Linked DNA regions of Homo sapiens: regions 1 and 3 are each linked to region 2. Evidence: promoter capture Hi-C in 16 types of primary human blood cells and fetal thymus (Javierre and others, 2016). All regions are on one chromosome and are shown on one strand. Each heading gives the region's core, a stretch centred on a gene start or on the middle of the fragment in contact. The rest is flanking DNA. Distances are from core to core; before and after follow the strand shown.

Region 1 (4,583 bases), core at 2,029-4,528, 410 kb after region 2:
AACGTGGTGAAACCCTGTCTCTACTAAAAATACAAAAATTAGCCAGGTGTGGTGGTGTGCACCTGTAATCCCAGCTACTTGGGAGGCTGAGGCACAAGAATCACTTGAACCTGGGAGGCAGAGATTGCAGTGAGCCGAGATCACGCCACTGCACTCTAGCCTGGACAAAAGATCAAAACTGTTTCAAAAAAATAAAAATTAAAAATACACACACATTAGAAACGTAAGTCTGGGCCTCTTAGACTTGAGATAGTGCACCAAAGTTGCCTCCTTATAAGAAATGATCATGAACATTTGTGGGCAGGGACAAAGAGCTCACACAAAGTTGGAAAAACACATTCCAGCCTTGTAGGCACAGAGCGGGACTCGCAACAGGCAGCGGCTTTTCCTTGTCAGAGCTGGAACAACACAGGCCTTTCATTAACGAGGCTTGACTTGCGGTCTCATTAGGCCCATAGCTGGAAACCTGGCTCAGGCTGGATCGGTTGAGGAGAAATGAGAAGAGGACCAGTGACCTGCTGGGTATTTGTCCTTTGCCCCCAAATCGCACTACCTGCTCCTGCTGCCCCTGGGCAGAAACAGGCCTCACAGCTTCCTCTCCCCCTAAGTGAGGCCTCCTGGGAGGTCCAGCCCCAGCCTTTGGCTCTCTGCTAAATTGAAATGCTCCTTACAATCCCCTGCAAAGAAATGAAACCCCAAACTTTTGGGAGAGGATGGAGGTTTTTCCAATAGCCAGCAGTTTTTGCAGAAAAACAAGGATTAAAGAAGCAATTAGTGGTTTGCCAACAAGCAGTCAGAGGAGAAAGCGAAATAAATCCACAACAGGTCAGCAGGAAGCCTCAGGCCCTTCAAATTTGGAATGGTTACAAAAAGCCCAAACAAGCTTCTCCTCTCCCACCGCACCAAGTCAGAGACCCAGGAACACCTAAATGAATCTCTGAGTATAACTGTCTGTGAACTTCTTCCTCTCTACACCTGGCATGTCATACATATATACATATATTTATGTCTGTAATCCACCTTGCTTTTTTACTTTATAAGTCAACTTTCTTTCTTTTTTTTCTTGACAAAAGTCTTGCTCTATTGCCCAGGTTGGATGGAGTGCAGTGGCACTATCCCAGCTCACTGCAACCTCCACCTCCCGGGTTCAAGCAAACCTCCACCTCCTGGGTTCAAGCAATTCTCCTGCCTTAGCCTCCCAAGTAGCTGGGATTACAGGCGCCCGCCACCATGCCCAGGTAATTTTTGTAGTTCCTTTTTTTTTTTTTTTTTTTTTTGAGACGGAGTCTCGCTCTGTCGCCCAGGCTGGAGTGCAGTGGCGTGATCTCAGCCCCCTGCAAGCTCCGCCTCCCGGGTTCACGCCATTCTCCTGCCTCTGCCTCCCAAGTAGCTGGGACTACAGGCGCCCACCACCATGCCTGGCTAACTTTTTTGTATTTTTAGTAGAGACGGGGTTTCACCGTGTTAGCCAGGATGGTCTCAATCTCCTGACCTCGTGATCCGCCCGTCTTGGCCTCCCAAAGTGCTGGGATTACAGGCGTGAGCCACCGCGCCCCGCCAATTTTTGTAGTTTTAGTAGAGACGGGGTTTTGCCATGTTGGCCACGCTGGTCTCAAACTCCTGGCCTCAAGTGATCAGCCCACCTCGGCCACCCAAAGTGCTGGGATTACAGGCTGAGCCAACTCGCCTGGCCTACTTTATGGTCAACGTTTCTAAAATACATTATAATTAACATACAATAAAATGCACCCATTTTAAGTATGACTTTTAACGAGTTTAATTCTCACTGTATGGGCCGGGCGCAGGGACTCAAGCCTGCAATCCCAGCACTTTGGGAGACTGAGGCGGTGGATCACCTGAGGTCAGGAGCTCGAGACCAGCCTGGCCAAAATGATGAAATCCCATCTCTACTAAAAATACAAAAAATTAGCTGGGCATGGTAGCGGACACCTGTAATCCCAGCTACTCAGGAGGCTGAGGCAGGAGAATTGCTTGAACACGGGAGGCGGAGGTTGCAGTGAGCCGAGATGGTACCATTGCACTCCAGCCTGGGCAACAAGAGCAAAACTATGTCTCAAAAACAAAGATTCTCATTGTATGTATATGCCCTGATCAGGGTATGAAACATTTTTGTCACCCCTAAGAAGTTTTTTCCAGCCTCTTTGCAGTCAGTCCTCTCCTATCCCCGGCCCCCAGCATCCATCCACTCATCTGTTCTCAGTCACTAAAGATTAGTTTTACCTTTTTTAGAATTTCATGTAAATGAAATCATATACTTTTTATGTCTGGTTTCTTTCTTTGCTCTTATTATTTATTTTATTATTATTTTTTGAGATGGAGTCACTCTCTGTCTCCCAGGCTGGAGTGCAGTGGTGCGATCACGGCTTACAACAGCCTCAACCTCCCAGGCTCAAAAGATTCTCCCACCTCAGCCTCCAGAGTAGCTGCGATTACAAGCACACACTACCATACGCAGCTTATTTTTAAAATTTTTTATAGAGTGAGGGTCCATCTGTGTTGCCAGGCTGGTTTCGAAATCCCAGGTTCAAGCAATCTTCAGCCTCTCAAAGTGTTAGAATTATAGGCGTGAACCACCACGCCCAGCGTCAGGGCTTAAGCCATCCTTCTGCCTCAGCCTCTCAAGTAGCCAGGACCACAGGTGTGTGCCATCACACCCAGCTATAAAAATCGTTTTACACTTGATCTTAGCCAAAAGGCCGAGAAGGGATGTAAAAATAATTTAAAAATTTTTTAATATTAAAATAGAGTTGGGTGCCGGGTGTGGTGCCTCACGTCTGTAATGTCAACATTTTGGGAGGCTGAGGCAGGCAGATCACTTGAGGCCAGGAGTTCAAGACCAGCCTGGCCAACATGGTGAAACCCTGTCTCTACTAAAAATACAGAAAAATTAGCCAGGCATGGTGGCACGTGCCTGTAATCCAGCTACTCGTGAGGCAGAGGCAGGAGAATTGCTTGAACCCAGGAGGTGGAGGTTGCAGTGAGCTGAGATCATGCCACTGCACTCCAGCCTGGGTGACAGAGTGAGACTTCATCTAAAAAAATAAATAAAAATAAATAAAATAAAATAGAGATGGGGTCTTGCTATGTTGCCCAGGTTAGTCTAGAGCCGAAATGATCCTCCCACCGTGGCCTCCCAAAGTGATGAGATTACAGAGGTGAGCCACCACACCCAGCCTGTAAAAATAATTTTTTTCTTTTTTGACACGGAGTTTCACTCTTGTCACCCAGGCTGGAGTGCAATGGCATGTTCTCAGCTCACCACAACTCCCACCTCTTGGGTTCAAGCCATTCTCCTGCCTCAGCCTCCCAAGCAGGTGGGATTACAGCCGCCCACCACCATGCCGAAGTTAATTTTTGTATTTTTAGTAGCAGCTTATGGGCCAGGCTGGTCTCAAACTCCTGACCTCAGGTGATCTGCCTGCCTCAGCCTCTCAAAGTGCTGGGATTACTGGCGTGAGCCACCGCGCCTGGCCTAAAAATAATTTTTAAAATTTTTATATTAAAATTGCTGCTAGCAAAACCTTTTTTTTTGTATATTGACCTTATTTCCTGTGATCTTGCTAAATTCACTAATTAGTTCTAGTAGTTGTTATATAGATTACTTAGAATTTTCTAGTAAACAGTTACATCATCTATGACTGAAGACAGTTTCACTTCTTTATGATCTTTACACATTTTTTTTTCTTGCCTTACTGCACTGACTAGGGCCTCTAGCACAACATTGAGTAAGTGGTAACGGCAAATATCTTTGCTTATTGCCAATCTTAGGGGCAGGTGGTCAGTTATTTAATGTTGTGTGTGATGTTAGCTATAGGTTTGGGGTAGACGCTTTATATCAGATAGAGGAATTCCCTCCTGTTCCTTGTTTGCTGAGAGCTTTTTTTCATGAATAGGTGTTCAGTTTTTTCAAATGCTTTTCTGCATCAATTTACATGGTCATCAGGTTTTTTTCCATTATTCTCTCTTTCTCTTTCACTGTTTTTTTTTTCTTTTTTTCCTTTTTTTTTTTTTTTTTTTTTTTTTGCTGTTGACACAGCCCCAGGAGGTCCTGGGAACATGTGTCCCTGTTATTCTCTTAATATGCTGAATTATATGGATTGATTTTTTGAATGTTAAACCAATCTCTAATTCCTGGGCATCTCTCATTTCGTCCTGATGTATTATCCTTTTTCTATATTGCTGGATTTGATTGCCAATGTTTCATTAAAGGTTTTTATCTATTGGAATCTCTGTTGTATACCCAGTACATGGCCATGGCCAATGCCTGAGCTGGTGTCAGAGGAGCTCTAGAAGTCTAGGAAGGGGGCCATCCTAGTCAGGGAAAATAGCAGGTTCAAGCCAGGCGTGGTGGCTCACACCTGTAATCTCAGCACTTTGGGAGGCCAAGGCGGGCGGATCACCTGAGGTCAGGAGTTCGAGCCCAGCCTGGCCAACATAGTGAAACCCTGTCTCTACTAAAAATACAAAAATTAACCAGGCATGGTTGCGGGCGCCTGTAATCCCAGCTACTCGGGAGGCTGAGGCAGGAGAAACGCTTGAACCCAAGAGGTGGGGGTCGCAGT
Region 2 (4,755 bases), core at 1,020-3,519:
GGCAGGTCACATTCAACAGACAAGATGAATACGTTGCTTGTTTTTTCTTTTCTTTTTCCTTCATTTTTTAAAAATTTTTTTCTTTTTTTTTTGAGAGAGGGTGTTGCTCTGTCTGCAATCATAGCTCACTACAGCCTCGACCTCCCAGGCTCAAGCGATCCTCCCACCTCAGCCTCACAAGTAGCTGGAACTACAGGCATGCGCCACCATGCCCAGCTAATTTTTAAATTTTTAGTAGAGACAAAGCCTCACTGTGTTGGCCAGTTGAACTCCTGGGCTCAAGCGATGCTCCTGCCTCGGCCTCCCAAAGTGCTGGGATTACGGGTACAAGCCACCACACTGGGCCTACTTCTTTATCAAAGAAGCCCTTCCTGAACAACACAGAAACCCCCCTAGAGGGTCCGTAATGAGAACCGAACAGAAAAACCCCCAACTCAGGTTTGCTGGGCAATCCTTCTTTTCCACAGAAGCTGGACCAGGTTCTGTTACCATTAAAAAAATACTGTATTCAATATTTTTAAAGACAAGAAGGGAAAGAGAACAGGTTCTTGCAAAGAGAGGTACAGCCTCGACTCCTTCCAAGTACACACGATCTCCCGTGTACTCGGGGCCCACACCCAGCCAGCCATCACGGGACCCAGACAGGGTCAGATGGGATGCTGCCGGGAAGGCAAGGCAAGGCAGGGCCCTATTCCATCTGCAGCATCTGAGCCTCGGTTTGGATGATGTGTTGCAAAGATTTTTTACTTGTACAGCTGAGAAGCAGGTCACTTAGTTTCTCAAGGACCAGCCGGCCTCAGTGCACAACTGAAGGTCAAGCGACTCTTACAGCCCTGTAGCCTTGCCGTGTGACACCCAGGTGACCTGTCTCTGCCAAAGTGCTGACTGTGCTCGCAGTCCTTGGAATGCACTTAAGTTTTTAATAGAAAGGACCTATAATTAGGGCAGTATCTGATGCTCTGATCTGGGAGAAGGAGAAAAGGAAAACAGCCCCTAGGATTCCTGCCCTCAGTTCAGCACAGCACAGGACGCCATGAGATTTTCAAAACCTGACATTCCCCAGGGAAGGGCCGACCCTCTTCAGCGAGGCTTACTTGAAAGACGCTTGAATCGCAAAGTAAGGTCTTGGCTTTTCCCCACTCTCAGAGAGACTCCAGGAGGACTCCGAGACTCCCAGACCAGCCCTCCGCCCCTGCCCTCAATCTCAGAATTGCTGAACTCTGGAAAGTCAAGATCATCTAGAACAGAAATACAAGGGGCTGGGGCCTGAGGCTAGAAACGACCAAAGACAGAATAAAAAGCACAGTCCTTTGTAAACTGTACAGCAGAGACACGGCAGCTCGGGAGTGGCGGAGTGCACCAAGCTCACTGTGGCTTGGGGTGGGGTGGTGGCGTGGGACTGGCAGTTGCCGGCTCTCCAGCCCGGGACAGTTACCTAACTCGTCTCCCAGCCTGTTTCCCCATGGGCAGCAGAGACAGCCAGGACACAGTGAAGCAGGTCACAAGGGGCTCAGAGTGTCCTCCCCAGCCCCGTCCAAGGAAACAGGGCCCGGCTCTGGGGGCGAACTCTGTCCCCACTACCCCAAGGGGCTGTGCCCTGGGGCAGGCACAGCGGGGCTCCTTCGGGAGGGAGCGAATCTCGGGCAAGGCTGGCCTCCTCCCGCTGGCCCAGGACAGCCTCGGGGGCGCCAGCAGGCACTGCTTGCTGTGGGTAGGGGGTGTCCAACCTAGACGCGGCCTCTGGGAGGGCAAGACCGGGAGGGGTCGGCCTGTGTCGGGGGCTCCTGGAAAAGCAGCGCCACCGCCACCCACCTGACGACATGGAAGGCCCAAAGCAGGCGATCTGTGCGAGGCCCGCGCGCGGCGCGGACGATGCTGAGGTACAAGTAGAGCGCAATGGCCACGGTCCAGAAGAAGGAGCTGGTGTTGGCGAAGGTGGACAGCGCGCCCTGCAGCACGCAGTCCCACGACGGGCCCGCGAAGTTCTGCAGCACTCCGTAGAAGTAGGAGGCGGCCGAGAGCAGGTCGGCCAGCGACAGGAAGAGCAGCAGGCGCCGTGCCCGGCTGCGCAGGTCGGGCCACAGGGCGTGCGTGGCCACCAGCAGGCCCGAGCCGAGCGCGGAGAGTGCGCACGACAGCAGCACCACGGCGCGCTCCGACGGCACCAGCTCGGTGGGCGGCGGGGACGGCTGCATGGCGTGGGGGGCCAGGAGCCGGAGCGCCGCGAGGACAGAAGCCGGGCCGCGCGTGCGGCCACGCCGCCGCCGTCTGGGCACCGAGGCGCCCTAGGCTCGCGTCCAGGCGCCCGCCCCGCCCGCGTCCGGCCGCTCCCCCGCCCATCTGGGCCCCGGGCCCTGAACCCCGTCCACGCCCTGCGCCCCGCCCCTATATCCCGGGCCCTGAGCCCCGCCCACGCGCCGCGCCCCACCCCGGTACCCCGGCCTTTAAGCCCCGCCTACACTCCCAGCCCCGTCCCGCCGTCCCAGGCCCTGAGCCCCGCCCACAATCCGAGCCCCGGACACACGTCCCCCGGCCCACATGCCCTTCCCGCCCACACGCCCCCCCCCCGCCCGTGTGCCCCCGCGTTGAGACTGGGACTTAGAGCTCCGCCCACGCGCCCCGATCCCCTGTCCACAGGGCCCAGAGACCTGGGCCTAGAGCCTAACCCACGCGCCCCGCTCCGCCCACGCACCCCGCCACACCCCTGTGTTCCGGGCCCTGACCCTGGCTCAGGTGCCCTTCCTCGTCCCGTTGCCCCGGGCCCTGAGCCCCGCCCCCGCCACGCCCCTGAGGCTTCCAAGCTCCACCCGGTGCCCGAGGCTCCTGAGCCCCGCCCACGCCCTCACACCACGCCCCTAAGCCCCTAGGTCCCTAAGCCCTACCTCAGGGCACCCCCAGGTCCCAGCACCTGTCCCTCCACGCTCCTCCAGGCCCACCCCTGCTCTTGCCAGGTGTCTGGGACATCCAGTCCTGTGAGAGGAAGGGCTGGCATTTTTAGGGCTAATATTACTTTCCCTCTTTTCAGCCAGCTTCTGTGTGTGTTGTGAGTGGAAGGGCGTGAGGATCAGAGGCATTCTTTCCACTAGCAACAGAAACAGCTCTCGGGTATGATCCTCATTCCTTCAGCCGTGATCCCGACGTGTTCACAAGTTGGTGGTGACTTGGGGAAGCCGGCGTTTCCACCTTTTCTTAAAATAAGCATGCTATTTTTTAAAAACCATAGCTAACTAGGTGTGATTTTTAAAAAATGAAATGCTAGGCAGGGCATGGCTTTTTCTTTAAAAATTTCAAACTTTGTAATTAAGATGTAATTCACATACCATAAAATTGGCCCTCTTAACCGAACAATTCAGTAGTATGTTCACAAGTTTGTGCAACCATCATTATTATGTAATTCTACAACATTGTCATTACTCCCAAAAAGAAATCCTTATCCCTCAGCTGTTAGCCCTCAGTTCTCCCCGACAGCCCTGGCAACCACTCTTCTACCGTGGATTTGCTTATTCTGCACATTTCCTGTAAATAGACTCATATGCTCTGTGGCCTTTATGTCTGACTTTTTTAACTTAGCACGTTTCCAAGGTTCATCGTAGCATATGCAGTGCTTCATTCCTTTTACTGCCCCGTAATATTCCATTATATGGATATACCACCTTTTTTTTTTTTTTCTAGAGACGGAGTCTCCCTCTGTCGCCCAGGCTGGAGAGCCGTGGCATGATCTCGGCTCACTGCAACCTCTGCCTCCCGGCTTCAAGCAGTTCTCCTGCCTCAGCCTCCCGAGTAGCTGGGACTACAGGCACACGCCGCCACGCCCGGCTAATTTCTTTTCTATTTTAGTAGAGGTGGGGTTTCACCGTGTTGCCCAGGCTGGTCTTGAACTCCTGAGCTCAGGCAATCTGCCTGCCTTGGCCTCCCAAAGTGCTAGGATTACAGGCATGAGCTACCGCGCTCGGCAGGATATACCACATTTTACTTAGCTATTATTCATCAGCCGATGGACATTTGGGTTGTTAACACTTTTTAACTATTAAGAATAATACCACTATGAAAATTTGCATACAAGTTTTTTTGTGGGTGTATGTTTTCAATTCTCCTATGTGTATACCTAGGAATGGAGTTGCTGGGCCATACGCAACTTTATATTTCACCTTGTGAGGAACTGCCAAGGTGTTTTCCAAAGTGACTGTACATATCATTTTACATTTGCACTAGCAATGAAGGTCGCAATTTCTCTACATTCTTCCAAAACTTTTTTTTGAGACAAGGTCTTGTCGCCGAGGCTGGAGTGCAGGTACAACCACAGCTCACTGCAGTCTCAAATTCCTAGGCTTAAGAATTCTCCCACCTTGGCCTCCCCAGTAGTTAGGACTTCAGGTGCATGTCACCATGCCCCACTAATTTTTTTTTTTTTTTTTTTTTGAGACTGAGTCTCGCTCTTGTTGCCCAGGTTGGAGTGCAGTGGCGTGATCTTGGCTCACTGCAACCTCTGCCTCCCGGGTTCAAGCGATTTTCCTGTCTCAGCCTCCTGAGTAGCTGGGATTACAGGTGTGCACCACCACAACCTGCTAATTTTTGTATTTTTAGTAGAGACAGGGTTTCACTGTATTGGCCAGGCTGGTCTTGAACTCCTGACCTCAGGTGATCTGCCCGCCTCAACCTCCCAAAGTGCTGGGATTACAGGTGTGAGCCACCTTGCCTGGGCCCCACTAATTTTTTTTTTGGAGATGGGGTCTCACTGTATTGCCCAGGCTGGTC
Region 3 (4,502 bases), core at 1,405-3,904, 430 kb after region 2:
ATTTTAGAACATTTTGGATTCTTATGGCTTTCTAATCTCCAGTAAATCCAGCCCCCCCCATAAGAGATTGTGTGTGTGTCTGTGTCTGTGTGTGTGTGTGTGTGTCTGTGTGTGTGTCTGTGTGTCTGTGTGTATCTGTTCCCTCCCCTCAATTAGGGCAATTGTTTAGTAAAATTTAAATCAAAGGAAAAAGGCCACTCCATGTTTTAATACAGGAACAACTTCCACACCACACAAAAGACAAACTATTTTCATTACAGTCCCACCGGCTTCATTGGTTAATACAGCCACAGCTACACAATAATGAGCCATCACTTATATATGAATACTTTAATTAATTAATTAATTTTGGGTTTTTTTGAGACAGAGTTTCACTCTTGTTGCCCAGGCTGGAGTGCAATGGCGTGATCTCGGCACAACCTCCGCCTCCCAGGTTCAAGCGATTCTCCTTCCTCAGCCTCCCAAGTAGCTGGGATTACAGGAATGTGCTACCACGCCCGGCTAATTTTGTATTTTTATTAGAGACAGGGATTCTCCATGTTGGTCAGGCGGGTCTCAAACTCCCAACCTCAGGTGATCTGCCCGCCTTGGCCTCCCAAAGTGCTGGGATTACAGGCGTGAGCCACTGTGCTCGGCATGAATACTTTTAAATCAGTTTATTTTATTGACATCAAAATATAAACAATGGCGTTAGTAAGTAAAATTTTAGTTATAATGTTTTGTCAGAAAGGTGTTTGTAAAGTGGCACTTTTCACCCAAGAGCTATTTTATTTAAGCTTTATTTCCTCAGCTTTATTATATATTTTTAAAATTCTGGGCTGGGCACGGTGGCTCATGCCTGTATTCCTAGCACTTTGAAGGGCCAATGCAAATGGATTGCTTGAGCTGAGCCCAGGAGTTTGAGACCAGCCTGGGCAATGTGGCGAAATCCCATCTCTACAAAAAATACAAAAAATTAGCCGGGCATGTTGGCGTGCACCTATAATCCCAGCTACTCAGGAGGCTGAACTTAGGAGTTGAATATAACTGAGCATGATATTCAGATCTCTCAAACGGATTCTTGGGCAAGAGTGTGTTCAAGACACATTTATCAGGAAAGCTACTTATCATTGTAAAAATGTATTTGGGAAATGTTAGAAAAAGACGTAATAAAATGCAGGTGCTCTATTGCAAAAACCACACATTTAGCACTTTTAGGCACAATTTACGTAAGACAGGATGTCCTTGAGCCCAGGAGATCAAGGCTGCAGTGAGCTGTGATTGTGCCACTGTACTCCAGCCTGGGCAATGGAATAAGACCCTGTGTCAAAAAAAAGAAAGATTCTCTCACACAACTATTTAATAACTTTCAAGTAAAGGACTACTTTTAAAAAATTGTGGGTACATAGTAGGTGTATACACTTACGAAGAAAACTCCTTTTACGTGGTAGTATTTCATTGATTTTGCACAACCTTAGCAGATGAGTACTCAGGCGTGACGTTACCTCTATTTTAGAGAAGAGGACATGCAGGTTAAGGGCTAAGTGACATGCCCAAAGTCATGTTCAATGTATATCCACCTTGCTTCTAAGAAAGACTTGAAGCCGCTAAAGTAAAGTAAGAAATGAACAAGCCCCAGACACAAGGCTGAGCCTCTGCTGCTTCTCCGCGAAGGCAGCAGCAGTTCCCAGCTCAGAGACTCCTAGGACTGCACCCTTCTGCCTCCGTGGCTATTGCTTCTGTTTCCTTTGCTGTGCTGCAGCCTTACAACCTCTGGCTGTTGGAGGGTCCAGGGCCCAGACCCTGGCCTTCTCTAGCTACTGCCACTCCTGTGGGCGCACTTAGTTTCATGGCTGTAAATACCATCTGTAAGCTGGCAGCCTTTCTGCTCTGAGCCTCACACGCTCCATCCGGCTGCCTGTTTGACAGCTTGGATGTTTATTAGCCATCCAAGAGTAACATGAGCAAAACAGAACTCCACAAAACCTACTGCTCCCAGAGTCTTCCCTGTCTCTGTTAGAGGCAGCTCCATCTTTCCAGCTACACAGATCTCAAGCTTCATAGTCATCCTTGGATCTTATTTCTCAGCCCTGCAGCAAATCCTATCAAGTCTACCTTCAAAATAAATACAGAATCTTACCCCTTCTCACTACTTCCTCCACCACTGTCCTGATGGAAGCCACCGTATCTCACCTATATTGGTGCATTCACTTCCTGACTGCTCTGGCTTGAAAGCTTGCTGCCCTCTACCCTCAGTCTGATCTCAGCAGAGCACCCAGAGAACCCTCTGCTCAGATCCTCTGCTCAGAGTTGCTGTCTCCCTCTGGGTAAGAGCTACAGCTATCCCTGTGGCCTACTAGGTTCTACACGATTCTCACCCTTCCCATTACTTCTGACTTTTCATCTCCTATTTTCCCCTTTGCCTCTCCAGCCTCCTTTTTGTTCCTTTAAAAGGCCAGGAACATTTCCCACCGCAGGGTGTTTGCAGTAGACATTGTCTGCACGGCTGACGTCCGCTGTCATCACCTTGCAGGAAGACCCTATAGTGACCATGCTATTTAAAAGCAAACTCTCCGCAACACTCCAGCCCGCCTTCCTGCTTTATATTTTTATCCGTAGCACTTACGTCCATCAACATACAGTGTAGTTTACTTATTTCTATTCTTTTCTCCCTCTTCACCACCCCCTCCAATGGGACTTCTTTGGAGGTAGTGACTTTGGTTTCTTTTAATTACTGAAATCGTCCCCAAGCATCGAGAATGTTGCCTGTCACATAGCAAGCATTCCATACAAATTGAATGCATGAGTTTTGGCATGTCAGGAAGATATTGCATATAAAGGGCTTAACACCCTCCCTCCGTGTAAATAATAAAAGCTGCTGTCATTATAATAGCTACTCTCTGCTTTTAAACACAAGGTTTTGTTTTTTTTTAACCTTAAAGTCTTTTATCTCTTAATAGAGGCAAAAAAAAAAGGTGGGGGGGAATATCCTATTACATAATTCTCATGTGAAGAAAGCATACTCTTCGGGGGAAATTTGTATCTTTTCCTGTTAATAAGTTCTAAAGGCAGAGTCTGTAACTCAGGACTTACATAAAAACAATATACCAACTTAGGAAGCTTTAGGGGGGCTTAACAGAGGGTGGCTCCTTTTCAGGCTGCTACCATGTGGGTTGAAGCCACCATCCTCTCTCACCTGGATTATTGTACAGCTTTCTGTTTCTTCATTAACCATCCCTAAGCTAACGGCGGTGACGATGGTTTACAGAGAGGGTCTTTATCTAGTAAGTGATCAAACAAGAACAAGGGTACAGGCTTTTGTCTTATCTACAAAGCCCGTGTTAGTTTCCTGTTGACATTTTTGGAAGACACTTTGTTATTCAAAAACCATACAAGGCTGGGCGCAGTGGCTCACCCTTGTAATCCCAGCACTTTGGGAGGCCAAGGCAGGTGGATCACCTTAGGTCAGGAGTTAGAGACCAACCTGGCCAACATGGCGAAACCTCGTCTCTACTAAAAATACAAAAACCAGCCGGACATGGCAGCACGTGCCTGTAATCCCAGCTTCTCGGGAGGGTGAGGCAAGAGAATCACTTGAACCTGGGAGGCGGAGGTTGCAGTGAGCCGAGATCACGCCACTGCCTTCCAGCCTGGGCAGCAGAGCGAGACTCCATCTCAAAAAAAAAAAAAAGAGAAAAGAAAAAAAACCCATGCAAATAACATGGTCATTCGTTTAAAAGTTGTCTGCTTGTGGCCGAGGCGGGCGGATCACGAGGTCAGGAGATAGAGACTATCCTGGCTAACACGGTGAAACCCTATCTCTACTAAAAATACAAAAAATTAGCCAGGTGTGGCGGTGGGCGCCTGTAATCCCGGCTACTCGGGAGGTTGAGGCAGGAGAATGGCATGAACCCCGGAGGCGGAGGTTGCAGTGAGCCGAGATCGTGCCACTGCACTCCTGTCTGGGTAACAGAGCAAGACTCCATCTCAAAAAAAAAGTTGTCTGCTTATTAATAGTCTTACTCATTTGGGGAATACTACTTTAAAAGACTTGTCAGAGAACAGAATTTGTTTATAGAAAGTTTATTTTCAAAATTCAGAGAAAAAAATATTCTCTATTCTGTTAAAGAAAAGTATTCTGTTAAAGAAAAAAATTCTCTATTGAAGAACCTATCTCGAACCTATCTTTTTTTTTTTAATAGTTACTTAAAAAGCAAAAAGGCAATATGTTAACAGATTCAGGTATCTGCTATTAAATGTGCCAGAGTAATAAATAGTATATGTATTTCAGGTATTTGCTTTTAAAAAAAATAAAAATCTTCTGGCTTAATATTTTCCAGCAAAGTTCTTACTATTTAAACTGCTGAGACACATTCTTTTTTTTTTTTTTTTTGAGGCAGAGTCTTGCTCTGTCGCCCAGGCTGGAGTGCAGTGGCACCATCTCTGCTCACTGCAACCTCTGTCTCCCGGATTCAAGCGATTCTCCTGCCTCAGCCTCCTGAGTAGCTGGGACCCGTCACCAC

Evidence for each region. Contacts are between HindIII fragments. The CHiCAGO score rates a contact against its expected background, and 5 or more counts as called.
Region 1: a fragment that was not itself captured here is called in contact with the fragment with the promoter of GPR157 in region 2 in 2 of 17 cell types (fetal thymus and M1 macrophages); the score reaches 5.2 in fetal thymus.
Region 3: a fragment that was not itself captured here is called in contact with the fragment with the promoter of GPR157 in region 2 in 1 of 17 cell types (fetal thymus); the score reaches 5.8 in fetal thymus.

Annotation. Positions count from the first base shown.
Region 1 is chr1:9,532,542-9,537,124 of GRCh38, forward strand. No RefSeq gene overlaps it. Among named protein-coding and RNA genes, the nearest start is that of SLC25A33, 4.6 kb to the right of the region's middle. The HindIII fragment of the contact is 4,795 bases long and covers 882-4,583 here.
Region 2 is chr1:9,126,833-9,131,587 of GRCh38, forward strand. GPR157 (G protein-coupled receptor 157) reads right to left here and starts at 2,270. Exons shown (of 4, transcript NM_024980.5): 1 at 1,813-2,270. The coding sequence starts at 2,195. RefSeq lists silencers at 2,127-2,476, 2,537-2,856 and enhancers at 3,558-3,627, 3,648-3,767, 4,058-4,147. The HindIII fragment of the contact is 8,185 bases long and covers 1-4,755 here.
Region 3 is chr1:9,556,596-9,561,097 of GRCh38, forward strand. All of the region lies in intron 2 of SLC25A33 (solute carrier family 25 member 33), which reads left to right. Among named protein-coding and RNA genes, the nearest start is that of SLC25A33, 19 kb to the left of the region's middle. The HindIII fragment of the contact is 885 bases long and covers 2,213-3,097 here.